Linked DNA regions of Homo sapiens: region 1 is linked to region 2. Evidence: promoter capture Hi-C in human tissues and cell types (Jung and others, 2019). All regions are on one chromosome and are shown on one strand. The core of a region is centred on a gene start or on the middle of the fragment in contact, and the rest is flanking DNA. Distances in the headings are between cores, read along the strand shown. Region 1 overlaps SYNE3 (spectrin repeat containing nuclear envelope family member 3). Region 2 holds the start of DICER1 (dicer 1, ribonuclease III).

Region 1 (5,901 bases), core at 2,878-5,377, 260 kb before region 2:
TGGGAGAACCTTAATTACAGGTTGTTAGTTGCAGTGGAAACCCAGGCTGGGTGGCCCTCCAGCTCATTGTCTTGCCCCTTTTCTCTCTCCCTGGGTGGGTCTCATGGGTCAGAGATTTGGCCCCACCCAACCCAGCAGCTATGGGAAGAACCACCTTCTCTGTGAACTCACACTCATTCAGCCGCTTAAACAATGTGTCACCCACCCCCACCCTCCACTCCCGAAGTCACTGCTGAAATACATGCAGCCAAGAGTACTTATTCATGGTTATAATCAGCCTGTTTTATAAAATCAGTGTCTAAAGACTTTGGTGAGTGAACACATTTGAGACTGGAGGCACAGGGTTAAGCGTTATCATCTGGAGGGGATACTTGGAGCAGGGGAATACATGAGTTGACTCAGAGAGGAGAGGTAGAGAGACAGAACTGCCCAGGTTAGAACCTCCCAGGAACATTTACATTTAACAGTGCTTCTTCATCACCATCATCACCCTCACCATCACTACCACCACCACCATCACTATCATCATCATCACCATCACCATCACCTCCATCACCATCATCACCATCACCATCATCATCTCTATCACTCACACTTACCATCACCATCACAGTCACCATGATCATCACCATTATCACCATTTCCATGATCATTATCACCATCATCACCACCTTACTCTCACCACCCCACCCCCACCCCACCACCATTAGCGTCATGATCATTATCGCATCACCACCATCATCAAGCATCACTGCCATCATTGCCATCACCTCCATCGCCATGGTCACTATCACTATCATCATCACGGGACTGTGGCTTTTGGTGCCCTGGAGGGTGAACCTTGGTTCTTTAGGGAGCCAGCAGATATATTCTATAATAATAGTACTAGTGCTATGATTACTAATATTAATAGTGATGAATGTCACTAACAGTTACTAATAGTGCTAGCACTATTATTATAAATAAGTATTAATAGTACTAATAGTAAGAACTGGTACATTTATCAATCAAGGTATATATATACCTTTGCTTTGAGCCCTCACCACAGCCCAGCAAATAGGGGTAGGTGTTTGATCCCCATTTTGCAGAGCAGATAACAGAGGATCCAATATTGATTTGCCCAAGGTCACATAGCTGTTGAGTAACAGAGTCTGGGTGGGGACCCAGTCTGCTAGGATCCTAAAAGCTGGGCTCGTCCTGCACTCTGCAGCATCTTGACCATGAGGGCCTCACTCTTCTGAGTGACCAGCTCTTGCCCCTGCACTCCTTGGCAGTCAGACATCCATGAAGCCACAACCTGGCCAGTCCCTCCAGAACTTAGGAAATGTTTTCTTGGCCACTTTCAGGGACATTGTAGCAGAGAAGTCCATTAGGCATTTGGACTTGTGAGACTAACCTTCATGTGATACTGATGGCAATAGTGATGGTGATGAAATTGATGATGAAATAAAAGGAGGAGGAGGAAGAGAGGGAGAAGAGGGAAGGAAAGAGGGAGGAAAAGAAGAGAGGGGCCAGGCGCGGTGGCTCACACCTATAATCCCAGCACTTTGGGAGGCCAAGGAGGGTGGATCACGAGGTCAGGATTCAAGACCAGCATGGCCAACATGGTGAAACCCCATCTCTACTAAAAATACAAAACAATTAGCTGGGCATGGTGGCAGGTGCCTGTAATCCCAGCTACCCGGGAGGCTGAGGGAGATAATTGATTGAACCTGGGAGGTGGAGGGTGCAGTGAGCTGAGATCACACCACTGAACTCCAGCCTGGGCGACAGAGCGAGACTCCATCTCAAAGGAAAAAAAAGAAAGAAAGAAAAGGAAGAGGGGGAGGAAAAAGAGGAAAGGGAAGAAAGACAAGAGGAGGAAGAAAGTGACGATGATAAATTTGATGCTGGTGATGATGGTGATGACGAAGATTTAGATGGTGAAATATTAAGGATGCATACTAATCATGACAGCAGCTGGTACATACTTACTATGTGCCAGGCTCTGCCTCATTGGATCCTCATGACAATTCTGTCATGTAGGTGCCATTATTGCCCCATCTGAAGATGAGAAACTAGAGATTCAGAGAAGTCAAGTGACCTTAGGATTCACAGCCAGCACTCTGCTACACCAGGCAAAGATATATGTCACAATGGCAGAGCCTGCAACTGTGTTTTCTATTCTTCCTTTCATGCCTTGAATGCTTTGGGAAAACTGCAGAAACCCTGTTTCTGTTAAAACTTACATTAGCCCTGTTTCACAGATGAGAACCTGGAGATGTGTACTGTCATACAGTCAGTTCAGTGCTACCACCGCTCCTGGCATCCTCCTCGCCCCCTGAACCTGCCCCCCACCACCAGAGCCCCCCAGCCCACTCACCTGTGCTGTGTTGGTTCCGCAGACTCGGCGGTGGCGAGGACTGGGCTCCCTCTTCCGGAGGGCGTGCTGTGTGGCGCTCCCACTGCAGCTGCTTCTGCTGCTGTTCCTCCTCCTGCTGTTCCTGCTCCCAATCAGGGAAGAGGACCGCAGCTGCACCCTGGCCAACAACTTCGCCCGCTCCTTCACGCTCATGCTGCGCTACAATGGCCCACCACCCACCTAACCCACTGGGGCACACAGGTGACTTTCTCCTCCAACCTCCATCAGTCCCAGGGCCCCTCCTGAGGATGCTCGCCAGGGAAACTGGAAACAGGGGCAGGGCAAAGACTGCAGAGCTGCATCCATATCAGTGCTGTGTCAGCGTTCCCAGAAGACACTTACTTTTTATACAGTGTTGTCTTAGTCTATTTATACTAAATGTGTACTACATGTGACTAGGGAATAATGTCTAGAATTTTTATATGATCTGTATGTAAATGCTCAGTATGTATAATTTCATATACGAGTTCTATTTGGAGTTGGGAAAATTCCTAGCAATGGCTCCCTCCAATGGGATTTTGTGGTATTGTTGACTTGGTCTGCAGTCAACCCTAGAAAGCAAGAACAATAACATGTCACTTTCATGGCAACCTCTTCTCCAAAGCGAATCCCAGAATTCAGATGTAATGAAAGGCCTCTGAGCTGCAACGTGGAAGAGCGCCATAGACCCTCACTTGGTGCCCAGCGACTCTTGCTTTATGCGTAATGAGAACAAGTATGCTTGTCTAGTTTTAACAACCACAAAGAGTAGCTGCCACGTGTCAGAAGTAGAAATGGCAATGACCAGAGGCAGGTTCAATGATAGCAGTGACAAGTGACAGAGTGATATCGAGGGAGAAAAAGAAGAGCTGCAGAGAGCAGATCCCCGAACTAAGAAAGCACAGCTGTGTGGAGGCATTGCATGCCGGAGCCCTAACCCCAGCTCTCAGCGGCTTCTGATCACACAGACCTATGAGGACTGTCCCTGGTGATGACACCGAGCCCCCATGAAACGGTGAGATCCTGCTCTGTGTGTTTCATTCAGGGAGAAAGGGAAGAAGACAAGCTTGATTTTTAAGATTTCCATGCAGAATGGTGAGGCACACTCGGTGGGCAGCACCCACTGGCAGTGCCCAGGAAAGATGTGTTTCCTCTGTTGCTCCTGGACTGAGTTTTCATCGTCGAGAGCTCGAGCTGCAGGTGAGAAGGGAAGCATCTGCCACGCCAGGGGCCAGGGATCGAGGGTCCAGGACAGAGGTGAGAGAATCTGCTTTGGAGTTCAGCCTGTCTCAAGGGCTCTCCTTCCGCTTCCCAGAAAAGACTCTGGAGACAGCAGGTCTATGGGGCCAAGAAGGTCTCATGTGCATCCCCATATGGGACTAGGGCCCAGGCCACCCAAAACCAGGCCCTCTCCAGCCAGGTGTAGGCGAGCTGGGCTCCATGCACCACCTGGGCTGGGGCCGCGGTGACTCCATGTGAGTTCCCGAGGCCAGAAACTCATCCCTTCCTTGCCAGGGAACTCTGGGATGGTTCCTAAGTGCTCTACAACTGGATCATGTTTTTCCTAAATCAACACTAAATTTTCCCCTTTAAAAAAGTACTTAATGCCCACTCTCTACAAATGGATTTTGTCTGTTCAACTACAAATACGAGGGGATTTCCTCGGACCTTCTGTCCGGCTTTGGAATCATAAGGTATTATAGACCCAGAAAGGCCCTTTAAGTAGAGGGGAAACTGAGGACCTAAGAGGGCCTGATACCCAGCACCATTGCTGTCTCACACACACTGACCCTTTGCCTTTCACTGTGAGCTCTGCCCTTGGGGACCCGGGTCCTAGGCAACTAGGACATTTCACCGGCAGGAAACCCGTGCTGCCAAGGAGAGCCCTTGGGGCTGACTCAGAAAGCGTACTTTTTTTTTTCTTTTAACTCGTCTGTATTTGTTACAACTTTAAGCAGAATGTGACTTGGGCACTATATTTCCATCCACAAGCCTGGCTCTGAGTTATTATTATTATTGTTATTATAATTATTTTGAGATGGAGTTTCGCTCTTTTTGCCCAGGCTGGAGTGCAGTGGTGCGATCTCGGCTCACTGCAACCTCCGCCTCCCAGATTCAAGCGATTCTCCTGCTTCAGCCTCCCAAATAGCTGGGATTACAGGCATCTGCCACCATGCCCAGCTAATTTTTGTATTTTTAGTAGAGTTAGGGTTTTACCATGTTGGCCAGGCTGGTCTCGAACTCCTGACCTCAGGTGATCCGCCCACCTCAGCGTCCCAAAGCACTGGGATTACAGGCATGAGCCACCATGCCTGGCCATTTTTTTTTTTTTTTGAATAGCTTTATGATAAGCTGTAGGCTTATAATTATGCTCCTCCAAACAACACTTTTCTTTGGAAAACAAGCCCTGTAGACTCTCCATCCTTCCATCAAGTTCCTTCCCTCAAGCTGCTTCAGTTTAACTTATTTCTACAAGACTAGTACATGCAGAATTGGCAACTACAGGGGATGAAAAGTTCAAAAAGTAGATCCTACAACCCTGTGACTTGGTTTCCAAATATCTAGAGAAATTTGTGATTTCATGGAAGAAGAGAAAGCACACTTTTCTCCAGATATCTGGAAACCAAGCCATAGGGCCGTTCTCTGCAGGCGACCACCTTACTGGAAAATCAGGAGCTGAGTGAGCCCAGGCAGCCAAGCCCAGATGTCCAGTCCTGGAAGTCAGAGCAGTGGCAGGGTGGGTGGGTGGGGGGGCCTTGCCAGGTGTCCACTTTCCTATGTCACAGGTGAGAAAGCTGAGGCCCAGAATGGGGAAGAAACTGATCCATGGCCACACAGTGAGAGGCAGCAAGGCCAGAGCCCAACTGGCCACCATGGCCCTCAGGTGGTACCCTGCTCATTGTGGTATGATCCGCTCATGTCAGCAACTACATGAAAAAAACAGCCACTGGGCATGTATGCAGCCTGTCACATATACCACATGTTGGGGAAGGAGAAGCTGGAACATGCGGGCGGGGGTGGGAATATCTACCTATATTTTTTAAATTTTGATAATGATGCCATCAAGTCTGTTTGTTTGCATAACTGTTTTTTAAAAAAGAATTGATATTTTCAGTATTTTCATATAAATATACTTGTAATATAACGTAACAGCCCAGTTACTGGTGCTTCCAAGCACAAGTGCAATCTCCTTTGCTTAAAGGAGAGCCAGGCAATTATTCTTATGACTTTAGTTTCCAGCCTCTTTAACAGCCATGCAGAGCTTTAAGGTGCTACTTGAGAAAGGTGGCGCTGTGGCGTGTGTGTGTGTGTGTGTGTGTGTGTGTGTGTGTGTGTGTGTGTGTCAGAGAGAGAGAGAGGAGGGAAGGAGAGGAGGGAGAAAGGACCACCAGTGGGTCGGTTGATGAATTAGTTATCCCTGCTTACCTGTCCCTCCCACCCCTTTCTTTCTTAGCCCGTTCTCTGCATGTGGAAAGGCACATGCAGCACCCAGAGGGTGTTTAAAAAGAAAAGCTGGGAGC
Region 2 (5,514 bases), core at 1,086-3,585:
GTAATCCCACCACTTTGGGAAGCCGAGGCAGGTCAGGAGTTCGAGACCAGCCTGGCCAACATGGTGAAACCCCGTCTCTACTGAAAATACAAAAATTAGCCGGGCGTGGTGGCACATGCCTGTAACCCAGCTACTTGGGAGGCTGAGGCAGAAGAATCGCTTGAACCTAGGAGGCAGAGGTTGCAGTGAGACGAGATTGCGCCATTGCACTCCAGCCTGGGCGACAAGAGTGAAACTCTGCCTCAAAAAAGAAAAAAACAAATACATAAAATTAAAAAAATAAAAAAATCAGGTATACCTGCTGATGGAACAAGCAGCCTGGCTAGTCTTGACAGATTGCAAGAGGGCAACCAGAGGGGCTGAAGTTGTACCAGCCCACAAATTTCCACTGCCAATAGAGTCCAGTGCCTACCCCCATACTGAGATGCTGTCCTTCTCATAAAGGCTTATCAGGGAGTCCACCGAAGAGATATCTACATTTGGGGATAAGTTAAGACGATGTTCTTTAAGCCAGACACTTATTTAACGCCCACCGATATTTTAATTCCTAGCTACAAAGAAAACCTTATATGTATGACTGGGGTCTTAAAGGTATGACATGCTCACCGTGCTTGACATATAAGAAACTACTTTTTTAAATACATGGGTCTGCCAGGAGCATCCTACTTCCTAATTTTGCCCATAAATATGCTACTTTCAAGTGAAACCTTAAGCCAATTCATAGTAAATATATTATCAAAATTTTAGCACAGTAATGACTGAGCACACCAGCCTCAAAGCCAGACTACGTGGGTTCAAATCTCAGTTGTTCACTTACTGGCTACTTACTTGTTGGAAGTTATTCCATTTCTTCGTCTGTTAAAACAGGAAGCAGGCTGGGTACGGTGGCTCACGCCCGTAATCCCAGCACTTTGGGAGGCCAAGGCGGACGGATGACAAGGTCAGAAATCGAGACCATCATGGCCAACATGGTGAAACCCCGTCTCTTCTAAAAATACAAAAATTAGCTGGGTGTGGTGGCGTGCCCCTGTAATCCCAGCTACTCGGGAGGCTGAGGCAGGAGAATCACTTGAACCTGGGAGGCGGAGATTGCAGTAAGCCCAGGTCGCACCACTGCACTCCAGCCTGGAGACAGAGTGAGACTCCGTCTCAAAAGAAAAAAAAAAAAAAAACAGGAAGCAGTTTCAGCACCTACCTCACAATGTGCACACAGTTAAAGCACCTACCTCACAGGGTGCACACAGTTAAAGCACCTACCTCACAGGGTGCACCTAAGGATCACAGGCATGCAAGCCCTAGATCAGCCTGCCCAATGGCAATATAATGCAGGCCACAGGTGACATTTAAAATTCTGTAGAACCCACACTAAAAAATAAACAAATAAAACTTTTATCCCAATATATGGAAAAAGTTTATCACTTCAACATGTAACAATTTTTTGAACATTATTTGGTAAAGAATGCATATATCTCGATTCCGACTAGCCATACTTTAAGTGCTCAGGAGCCATGTGGGGCTGGTGGCCCCAAACTGAACAGCACAGCCCAGGCAGCAGGGGCGCATAGTAGGTTCTGCTCACGCCCATGGTCTGAAAGAAACACGGTTGCAGTTGCTGTGAGCACACCTCACCTGGAGCAAACCGGCCTATCAGGGGGTCCACTGAAGAGATGTCTACATTTGGGGATAAATTAAGAAGATGTTCTTTAAGCCAGCCACTTATTTAATTCCCACCGATATTTTAATTCCTAGCTTCAAGCTGTGGTGCGCGGTTCCGACCTATGCAAATGAACAGCTTACAAACAGAGGGCCACCATCTATTTCTCATTATCTGGGGATCCCGGTTGGGGTGGGGGGCGGAAGTGGGTGTTTGTTATTTCCCCAAATGCGGAGGCCCCTGCACCACTAACGCGAGGAAACGCAGGCGAGTGGGAAGGTACTTTAAAAAGGGGAGGGAGGTGCTCAGAGGGAAGCTAAGCTCTCCGGGAAACAATTACGGCCACGTTACGGTCTGTGGGTGCCAGAAGGAGCAACAATGGAGGCAGTCGAATTCCGAGAGCTCAGAGAGTCTGCCAAACTTAGCCGGCCTCGGCGCGCGGGTTCCCGGGGGCCCCAAAAACTCCGGGCAACTGCGGCCCAACGCCAAGGTCCAGTCCAGGCGCTGGGCCGCAAACGCCTCTCCGGCCTCCGCGCGCGCGCCCGCTGTCTCCCTGCTCCTGAGTGGCTGGGGGGCCGGGATTAACCTTTCACCGCCAGGCCCTGTCCAATCACAGGCTCGCTCTCATGCCGCCACGGGGCGAGCGGAGCGTGGGGGCGCGGAGGGGCGGTGCGGGAGCCAGTGGGATTCTCCAAGCGGCTGTGCGCCGTTGCCGCGGGCCGTGCGCTGGCTGCCGGCCAGCCGGGCGCTGCGCAGTCTCCGCAGGCGCCGGCGGGAGGGGTCGAGGCGGAGGCGCGGCGCAGGCTGCTGCAGGCCCAGGTGAATGGAGTAACCTGACAGCGGGGACGAGGCGACGGCGAGCGCGAGGAAATGGCGGCGGGGGCGGCGGCGCCGGGCGGCTCCGGGAGGCCTGGGCTGTGACGCGCGCGCCGGAGCGGGGTCCGATGGTTCTCGAAGGCCCGCGGCGCCCCGTGCTGCAGGTGAGGCGGGCTCCCGCGGAGCAGCTTTGTGTCCGGGGCGGGGAGCGGGTCGCCTGGCCGCGCTCCCGCCTCCGCGCGGAGGCCCGCGTGCCGGCCATGGCCCCGAGCCGCGCGTCCGGGCCTGGCGGGCGCTGACGAAGGGCGCGGCCTCGCCTGCCTCGTCGTCCCGCACAGCGCGGCCTGTGGACCCGGCGTCTGCCCGCCTCGGCTCTGCTCCTGGGCCCGGACCCCGGCGCCTCCCCGCGAGGCAGCCCTGGGAGACTTTCCGGGCCGCCGTGGCGTGGTGGGGGATGCCGGCGCCTGTCCACTCCCCGGCCTGGCGAGGCCTGGGGCTCTTGACAGGTCCCGTCACGCGCGCTAAGGTGGCGCGGGAGCAGCGGAGGTGGAGACGCGCGCCTGACCTGCCGGAGCACCCTGGGGCCCTCCTCTGATGGGGCCGCTGTGCCGCGCCCGGAGGGGACGAAGCTGGGCTCTCGGTCCCTCCCGGGAGGGTCCTGTGTGATTACTGTCAGGGGACCAGATTGGGGCCCTGGGGGGCGGGCAGGGGCCGAGGCCATTCTTTTGCCTCTCCCCTCAGATGTTTTTGTGCCAAAATGCCTAGACCCTGCGGAGGACCCTTTCTTCAGGGTTTTTGATTTTGGGGAAATCAGTGTATGTTTTAAGTTAGCACATCAGATTTCTGTAGATTGTCCAGAAAAGCTGAGTTGCCCTGATGGCTCTGCCTGGAGGTCAGAGCCAGCAAACCACTGAGTGTGTCCTTAGGAACCTGAAGATCCGCGGAAACGTGGAGATGAGTTGGAGGGTCCTATTTGTGTAGTGTTAACTCCGTGCTTTTGTGGAGAGAGTTGTGGTTAAAGGGACACGTTACTGGTCTACACGATAAGTAAGTGTTCTTAGGACTTTCAGGTTTTAAAAACATTCATCTGATGAAAGAGGATCACTTGGACGCCTATGCTTCTGTCTTCGAATATTCTGAATCTTTACAATCCTGATTGTCAGGTGTCTTCGTGGTGCTTGTTTTCAAACAGTGGAAAAGGACTCAGGTTAGGATTTAAGCAACTCGGAAAATATTGTTAAAAATGTGCTGTTAAAACAGGTTAGCTATATTGAATATGTATTGGTGTAAACGTTAAGTTTTCTAAATAAAAATATACATCCTCACCAAAAAACTCAGTTTATTAAAAGATGGGTTCGGGATAAGCCAGGTCCTAGAGAATAGTAATTTTCAATATTATTGATATCTTTGGAAATTAGGTTCTGGAATAGCCAGTTTATTTTGCAAAGTCTACTTTAAAGCTACCTGTGGCACGTGTGTATTATATGTAATATGTGCTGTGTACATGCACATACATACACAATTATTTCAAAACTTCATTTTAGGGCATATTCCATAAAACTCAATAGATAAAAAAACAAAAAACTAAAGATTGCTTTTAACATGGTCACTATAAACATTGATCATGGTAACATAGGTTTATAGATTTACTCACGGCACCAAAATGCTGTTTTAAGAAGAGAACAGTTAGTCCATTTTAATTTGGGGAGAAAAGACATTTTCCTACAATCCTTTTTAGTAAGGGCCTGCTTTACTTTTTATGCTTCCATCTCATGTTTGAAGGGTAAGCCCTGACTGCTCTGCTGTATTTTGCCCGTGGCTCAATGTGTGAGTTGGGTAGCTAGGTTGTTTTGCTATTATTGAGCTTTATTGTCTTGGTTTTAGAAGACATTGTCTTTTGATGTGGCTCATGATTCTTATTTGACAGTGATTTTGTCATATAGTGGGTTGTACAGTACTTGTAGTGCTATCTTCTAGAGAGGGTGACTTTTATGGCGTTGGGATGTTTTATTCTCTACCACTATCTGACATGTGAGGTGCTTGTTTCATTTGAGAAAGTAGATATTTCGTAGACAGTCTCTCACTTGCGACCCTACCATGTCATGGTCACGTTTCCACTTGCTCATGGCAAAGGAGATAAGGGAAACGTGTTATTGAGTGCCTCCTTGTTATGCGCCAAGATGTTTCAGGTTCTACGTACATTCTCTTCTAATCCTCACTGTGACCCTGCGATCAACTCGATATTGTCCTTGTTTTATAGGCAAGGAAACTAAGAGTCAGTGATTATTACCCCAAGTTAGGAATCTCGAAGTGGCAGAGCCGAGATCGAATTGTGGTTTGGTTTCAGAATCTTTGGAGGCATGCTTTTTGTATTGCATTACTGTTCCAAATGGATTTCAGGGCTGCATCACGTGTAGTGACTCCTCAGTTAAGACTTGTGGAATGAATGAAGCTGTGTCTAACCTTAAATGTTCAGGTGAATGAATGGTTATTTGAATATTTCAGATAGTTGTTTTTTTTTTTTTTTGGCATGGTAAAATATACATAACACAACGTTGAACCATTTTAAGTGTACAACTAGCTGGCATACAGTACATTTACATTGTTTTTAGTCATTACCAGCATCCATCTCCATACTTTTTCATCTTTCCCAACTCAAACTGTCCTCATTAACACTAACTCCTGATTCCATCCTACCTTCAATGCCAGAGAACCACCATTCTACTTCCTGTCACTGACTACTGGAGAAACCTCAAAATAAGTAGAGTCATACAGTATTTGTTCTTTTGTGTCTGGCTTATTTTACCCAGCATAGTGTCTCCACGGCTCATCTGTGATGATTTAGATGTCAGAATTCCCTTCCTTGGAAAAGCTGAATGGTATTTCATTGTATGAATATACTGCATTTTGTTTATCCATTCATCTGTCCATGGCCACTTGGGTAGCTTCTATCTTTTGGCTACTGTGAATAATGGTGCTGTGAACGTAGGTATACAAATAATTCATTGGAGTCCATGCTTTCCCTTCTTTTAGACATATACCTC

Evidence for each region. The method cuts DNA at HindIII sites, captures the fragments that hold promoters and counts their contacts. A contact is called where the count stands out against the background at its distance.
Region 1: a fragment that was not itself captured here is called in contact with the fragment with the promoter of DICER1 in region 2 in 2 of the 25 tissues and cell types used here (IMR-90 fibroblasts and adrenal gland).

Annotation. Positions count from the first base shown.
Region 1 is chr14:95,414,510-95,420,410 of GRCh38, reverse strand. SYNE3 (spectrin repeat containing nuclear envelope family member 3) reads left to right here. Exons shown (of 18, transcript NM_152592.6): 18 at 2,385-5,901. The coding sequence ends at 2,585. Among named protein-coding and RNA genes, the nearest start is that of LINC02292, 88 kb to the right of the region's middle. The HindIII fragment of the contact is 6,096 bases long and covers 1,080-5,901 here.
Region 2 is chr14:95,154,350-95,159,863 of GRCh38, reverse strand. It overlaps DICER1 (dicer 1, ribonuclease III), which reads left to right and starts at 2,335. Exons shown (of 27, transcript NM_177438.3): 1 at 2,335-2,634. It overlaps DICER1-AS1 (DICER1 antisense RNA 1), which reads right to left and starts at 2,176. Exons shown (of 4, transcript NR_015415.1): 1 at 2,006-2,176; 2 at 1,630-1,671; 3 at 829-988. RefSeq lists enhancers at 1,865-1,934, 1,975-2,074 and silencers at 2,165-2,624, 2,685-3,044. The HindIII fragment of the contact is 9,684 bases long and covers 1-5,514 here.